Regions from separate parts of the Homo sapiens genome. Here region 2 is linked to region 1. Evidence: promoter capture Hi-C in 16 types of primary human blood cells and fetal thymus (Javierre and others, 2016). All regions are on one chromosome and are shown on one strand. The core of a region is centred on a gene start or on the middle of the fragment in contact, and the rest is flanking DNA. Distances in the headings are between cores, read along the strand shown.

The links. Contacts are between HindIII fragments. The CHiCAGO score rates a contact against its expected background, and 5 or more counts as called.
Region 2: a fragment that was not itself captured here is called in contact with the fragment with the promoter of RNF185 in region 1 in 1 of 17 cell types (M1 macrophages); the score reaches 5.1 in M1 macrophages.

What each region holds. Positions count from the first base shown.
Region 1 is chr22:31,158,501-31,161,811 of GRCh38, forward strand. RNF185 (ring finger protein 185) reads left to right here and starts at 1,682. Exons shown (of 7, transcript NM_152267.4): 1 at 1,682-1,803. It overlaps MIR3928 (microRNA 3928), which reads right to left and starts at 1,619; the gene lies at 1,562-1,619. The HindIII fragment of the contact is 23,924 bases long and covers 1-3,311 here.
Region 2 is chr22:30,757,401-30,761,135 of GRCh38, forward strand. All of the region lies in intron 2 of OSBP2 (oxysterol binding protein 2), which reads left to right. Among named protein-coding and RNA genes, the nearest start is that of MIR3200, 28 kb to the left of the region's middle. The HindIII fragment of the contact is 7,351 bases long and covers 1-3,735 here.

The sequences.
Region 1 (3,311 bases), core at 432-2,931:
ACCTCTGTCTCCTGGGTTCAGGCAATTCTCCAGCCTCAGCCTCCCAAGTAGCCGGGATTACAGGTGCCCGCCACCACGCCTGGCTAATTTTTGTATTTTTAGTAGAGATGAGTTTCACCATGTTGGCCAGGCTGGTCTCGAACTCCTAACCTCAGGTGATCTGCCTGCCTCGACCTCCCAAAGTGCTGGTATTATAGGCGTGAGCCACCGCGCCGGCCTTTATCTACTATGTTCACCTCCTACTCAGGTCCGATCCCTAACCGTTCCTGGGATAACTGTAGGTACTTAATAAATGCTTGTTGAATGAATGAAGATGGCTGTCAAGAACTCCAATGACTGCTTGAGTGCAAATCACAAGCTCCATCACCTATCAGTATGTGATTTGATACAATATGTATTAACAGCTAATCCACAATCCATATTCAAATTTCATTACTTGTCCCAATATTGTCCATTACAACTATTCCACCACCACCACTACCCCAGTCCAGGGTCCTATTTAGAATCACACACCACATTTTGTTGTCATGCTTCTTTAGTCTCCTTTAAACTGGAACAGTTCCTCAGCTTTTCTCTGTTTTTCATGACAATGAGTTATTTTGTAGACAGTGTCCTTCATTTGGGGTTCTCTAGCACTTCCTCATGAGATGTGTACGGTGCACTTTTGACAGAAATACCACAGATGTGTTCTCAGTGCATTTTATTAGGAGGCCCTTGATCTGACCCATTAACTAGTGGTGTTAACTTTGATCACTTTGATCTGTTTGTTCTGCTAGGTTAAACCTCTGTAACATCACCATTTTCCCTTTGTAATCAATAGCTAATTTATGGGAGACACTTTTGCTGTTGTAAACATCCCGTTTCTCTAGTTTTACCACACATTATTGATTTCCTAATTCCACCATGTTTATTAGCTAGCATTCTACTAAAAGGAAGACTTTCCCTTCACCCATTAATATGCTCACTTCTTTATGTTTGTAAAGACTCATGGATTACTATTTTATTCAATTAGTTATACTCTATTACTATCACTCCATATTTTGATTCTGAAATTGCCCTGACTTGGCCAGTAAGATCTCCTTAAAGACAGCTCCTGTGTTCTTTGACACATTCCCATGATTCTTATTACCATCATCCTTATATTCTGGTGTAACAAGATGTTCCAAGTTTATCTGGTACTTTCCGGAATGAGTTAGTTCTTTCTCTCTCTCTTTTTTTTTTTTTTTTTTGACGGAGTCTCACTCTGACGCCCAGGCTAGAGTGCAGTGGTGCGATCTCAGCTCACTGCAACCTCCGCCTCCCGGGTTCAAGCGATTATCCTGCCTCAGCCTCCCGAGTAGCTGGGATTACAGGTGTGCGCCACCACGACCGGCTACTTTTTGTATTTTGAGTACAGAGGGGTTTCACCATTTTGGCCAGGCTGGTCTCGAACTCCTGACCTCAAGTGATCCATCCGCCGCGGCCTCCCAAACTGCTGGAATTACAGGTGGGAGCCACCGCGCCCGGCCGGAATCAGTTTTTTTCTTTTAGGAGCCCCGAACCCAAAGCTCTTTGAAAAGCTGCCGAAGCTCCAAGGTTCCTCCGCTTCCTGCCCGCAGGCGGAACCTTAGAGCTTCAGCCATGGAAATTAACCTCTTCCGGTTGGGGCCGGAAGTCCCTCCGAGAGGGGCGGCTCCGCGTCATGTGACTGGAGTCCGCGTAGGAGGGGTCGGAGGTCTTACCCAACAGATTGACGCGGCGTTAGTATTGGCCGTGTACCCGAAAAACTGATTGACTGGGCTGGCGTTAACTGTGCGGAGGCAGGTATGTGAGGGGCTGGGGTTGGGGCGGGGGCGCCAAAGTTTAGGGACGGGGGCGGGAGACCCGGGTCCGCCTTCCCAGGACACACGGGCTTGAACATCTGAGCCCAGGGGCCCAGAGACAGCAAGACCGGTCGTGTCTGTCCCCGAAAAGAGGACGAGCTGGCGTTGTGGTTCTGCGTCCCATGAATACAGATTGGGGAAACTGAGGCCTTGCGAAAGAGAAGGGCTCCCACAAGCTCTCCTTTCGAGGCATGGGCACTGATTCCCATTCTATCCCCCGTGCGAGACCGCCTCTATCATCTGGGAGTGCATTTCACGAGTTTGCCCTGAGTGGAGAAGCAGAGGCCGGGGAGCGCGGTGAACAGAGTTGGGCTGAAAGTAAGAGACCTGGATTCGAGACTTCGCCACCGACAGACAATTGTGCGTTCTGGGCCAAATCTCTTCCCTGTGCTGGGCCTCAGTTTTCTCGTCTCTAAAACGGGGCAGTGTTTTTCAAAATATGGTTCTTACACCATCTGCTTTGTAATTCTCTGAGATGCCGGCTTTACAGCGCGGGACTCAATTCAGACTTCTGGTTTAGAATCTGAACTTATGCGTAGGGGGGTCCTGTATATACTAATGTTTGAAGCTCATTGATTTTAAGTGCTTTCCTGCTGTGAGCACTAGATATCCATTCTTCGCTTTGAGGCAGCTGGTGCCAGTTCAGGAACTTTGAAAGAACTGGAATGGTTAGCTCAGTAAAGAGAGCACTGGAAGGGAATTAACTTTTTAAAAATTGAAAATACTGTTACGGCAAAGAGGGCTTCCACTTCATCTTTAGGCTAAAAGAGGCAGAACTAGGACTAACAGGTGAATTCTACAGGAAGGCAAGATTTTTGCTTAATAGAAGAACTTAAATGGAAGAATCGTCAGAGGTGACCACCGATGGAGTGAATGGATTGCCTCCGTGCCTCCTTTCGAGGGAGGTATATAGGTATTAGATGAAGGTCCTTTCCAACTTGAAAGTCTGTGATTCCAAGGAGTTGTTCTGCATCTTTCTGGTGCTGACTCTGCTCTCAAGGCAAATGTGACTTTTTTCTTCTCTTTTGACACTTCCATCACTTTAGCCTACATCTCCTGTAAATAAGGCCAATGCATCTGACCTTACATAATCTCTTCCTGGTTGTCCTGTGCACCATCCTTCTTTTCAAGGACTTTGGAATGACCCAATATCTGATAGAGGCACCTTAAATGTTTATTGAATGAATAAGTAAACTGGGTCCCACCCCATGGGTTAGTAGCTTTTTTCTAAGAACAAGTTGGAAATGCCTCTGAAGATTTTATGTTTGACCAGGAGAAGCCAGTGAACTCTGAATCACAAAATTGAGGACTCTCAGTTGAAAGCACCCCTTGAGGTTGTTCAGACCAGCCTTCTCTTCCCTGGAACATAATCCCTGCTTGAATCCTCTCTTCAGCAATATGTGTATAGATGTGAGAGAATTTTTGCAGTCTGTTGGCTAGCTTTCCATG
Region 2 (3,735 bases), core at 587-3,086, 400 kb before region 1:
ATCGCTGTTTTCTTTTTCCTTTTCTTTTCTTTTTTTTTTGAGACAGAGTCTCTGTCGCCCAAGCTGGAGTACAATGGCATGATCTCGGCTCACTGCAACCTCCGCCTCCCGGGTTCAAGTGATTCTCCTGTCTCAGTCTCCCGAGTAGCTGGGTCTACAGGTGGGTGCCACCATACCTGGCTAATTTTTGTATTTTCGGTAGAGACAGGGTTCCACCATGTTGGCCAGGCTGGTCTCAAACTCCTGACCTCAAGTGGTCTGCCCGCCTCGGCCTCCCAAAGTGCTGGGATTACAGACATGAGCCACTGCACCCAGCCTTATTGCTGTTTTGTCACTCCTGTAGCCTCAACCTCTCTCCTGGCCTCTTCCCACTGCATATGACCCACCACTCACTACTTTGAAACTGTACTAGCCAAGGTCTCAGGTCACTTTCCAGACCTGGCAGATGACTAAGAAGTGAACCTGGGTGTCACCTTGAGTCCTGCCCTCCCTGATCCCTCATGTGCAGCTTGTCAGCAGATCCTGTCAGTGCCAGACCTGAGCACTTTCACATCTGCCCACTGCCCTCCATCTGCCTGGCCTCCAACCCAGTTTCACTATCTGACCTCCCAGAGTCTGGACAGCAAGAGTGAGTCTTTTAAAATCCAATTCTGCTCAGTTCCAGTTCCAGGTAGGATTAAGTGAGAAGGTTTCACTCTGCAGCTATGAAACATGGACAGGGCCAGGCACAGTGGCTCATGCCTGTAATCCGTGCACTTTGGAAGCCTGAGGCAGGCCGATCACTTGAGGCCAGGAGTTCGAGACCGGCCTGGCCAACATGGTGAAACCCCATCTCTACTAAAAATACAAAAATTAGCCGGGTGTGGTGGCGCACGCTTGTAGTCCAGCTACTGGGGAGGCTGAGGTGTGATAATCACTTGATCCCGGGAGGAAGAGGTTGCAGTGAGCCGAGATGGCACCACTGCATTCCAGCCTGGGTGACAGAGCGAGACTCTGTCTCAAAAATAAAATAAAATAAAATGTGGACAGAATGCACAGAGCAGCTATTTGAGCACCCTGAAAATTAAGTAGCCACAAGCAGACTAGAGAAGACCAGAATCTGAGGTAACACCAAACAGGTGGTGAGGTTACAATTTTTTCCCTCCAGTATCTTCTAGAGTGGACTCAGGGGAGACCCAGAAGTGAGCAGACAGAGAAAACTCCTGGAGAAGCCCTCTAGTTCAGGCTCAAGGAGGAAAGGGTCCCCTGTCAGTGATAGCAGTGGCGATGAGAGGCCTGCAGGTACCAAAAACTCAGAGGAATCCATGCACACCAGTAGGAAGAGCTCTGGGCCCAAGAAGTGAGGGAACCCCTGTTCCATTTTTCTCTCACTCTTCCTACCACTTAGCCCCCGATATAGGTGTGGTGGTGGGAAGTGGGCAGCCAGAGGACTGAAACAGAGCCCAAGAGAACCAGAAAAAAACAGGAAATCACAGAAAGAGAACACCTTGGGAAAGTGACCCCATAACGTTGTTTTCATGAACTCCTGGCTTCACGTTCAAGCCGCACATGGATGGATCTGATCCTAAACAGCATACTAAAGATTTTGAGAACTGAACTTAAAGCTGCATGAATACCCACGTCCCTGTGGCCACTGGCTGGCACACATGTGGAACAGATCCAACTAGTACTGCAAAGGGCCGGGCGCAGTGTAACCTGGCACTTTGGGAAGCCGAGACAGGTGGATCACTTGAGGCCAGGAGTTCGAGACCAGCCTGGCCAACACGGTGAAACCCCGTCTCTACTAAAAATACAAAAATTAGCCAGGCGTGGTGGTGCACACCTGTAATCCCAGCTACTCGGGAGGCTGAGGCAGGAGAATCGCTTGAGCCTGGGAGGCAGAGCTTGCAGTGAGCCGAGATTGCACCACTGCACTCCAGAGCAAGACTCTGTCTCAAAAACAAAAACAAATAGTACTGCAAAGGCTTTGAAAATGGAACAAACAGTGAAACCACCACCCAGAGACGGCTGGTCACTACCTGTGGCCTTAACCCAACTTATTTGATAGACTGCTAAAATGAAAATATCAAATTACCAACATCAGGAATGAAATAAACAATTAATAGCACTAACAAACATAAAAGGACAATACTACAAAAACATAAAATAGATACATAATACATAAAAGGAATGCTACAGACAACTCTGCTGACAAATTTGACAACTTGGATGAAATGAACCAATTCTTCAAAAATCAAATTCTAACACTTGCCCAAGATCAAATCCATAAACTGAATAATCCTATAACTATTAAAGAAGTTGCATTCATAGTTTAAAACACTTCAAAAAAGAAGTCTTCAGGCCTACATGATTTCACAGGTAAATTTTATCAAATATTTGAAAAAAGAATAACACTATTTCCACACAATCTCTTCCAGAAAACAGAAGAGGAATGAGTAATTTCTTTTCTTTTTTAATTTTTCTTTTCTTTTTTTTTTGAGACAGTGTCTCGCTCTGTTGCCCAGGCTGGAGTGTGCAGTGGTGCAGTCTTGGCTCACTGCAACCTCTGCCTCCCAGGTTCAAGCAGTTCTCCTCCCTCAGCCTCCTTAGTAGCTGGGATTACAGGCATGTGCCACCACGCCCAGCTAATTTTTTTTTTTGTATTTTTAGTAGAGACAGGGTTTCACCATGTTGGCCAGGGTCATCCTGAACTACTGACATCAGGTGATCCGCCTGCCTTGGTCTCCCAAAGTGCTGGGATTACAGGCGTGAGCCACTGCACCCGGCTTTTTTTTTTTTTTTGAGACAGAGTCTTGCACTGTTGCCCAGGCTGGTCTCAAACTCCTGACCTCAAGTGATCTGCTCGCCTTGGCCTCCCAAAGTGCTAGGATTACAGGAGTGAGTAATTTCTAACTCATTTATAAGGACAGCATACCCTGATACCAAACTGAACAAAGATAGTGTAAGAAAAGAAAACTTCGGACCAATATTTCTCATGAGCATAGATGAAAACATCTTCAACAAAATATTAACAATTTGAAACCAGCAATACAATAGAATATTACACCATGATCAAGTGGATTTCATGCTAGGAGTGCAAGATGAGTGCAAGATAGGTGCAAGATAGGTTCCATGTTTGAAAATCAATAAATGGGGCTGGGGGCAGTGGCTCACACCTGTAATCCCAGCACTTTGGAAGGCCAATGCAGGCAGATCACTTGAAGTCAGGAGTTCAAGAGCAGCTTGGCCAACATGGTGAAACCCTGTCTCTACTGAAAATACAAAAATTAGCCAGGCATGGTGGTGCACACCTGTAGTCTCAGCTACTTAGGAGGCTGAGTCAGGAGAATCGCTTGAACCCTGGCAGGGCGGAGGTTGCAGTGAGTGGAGATCGCACCACTGCACCCCAGCCTGGGCAACAGAGCAAGACTCTGTCTCAAAAAAAGAAAAAAAAAAGAAAATCAATATAAATGGAATCATAATATTAACAATCTAAGAAAAACTACATTATAATATCAATTGATACAGAAAAAGGCATTTGACAAAATTTAACATTATTCATGGTAAAAACTCTCAGCAAACTAGGAGACTCCTCCACCTGATTAAGGGCATCTTCAAGAAACTGACATCATATGTAGTGATAGAAGACTGAATGCTTTACTTTCCGCCTAGGATCAGTAAAGTCAAGGATGTCCATGCTCACCCCTCATATTCATCCTAATACTAGCCAGTATTATAATGCAAGAAAAAAGAAGT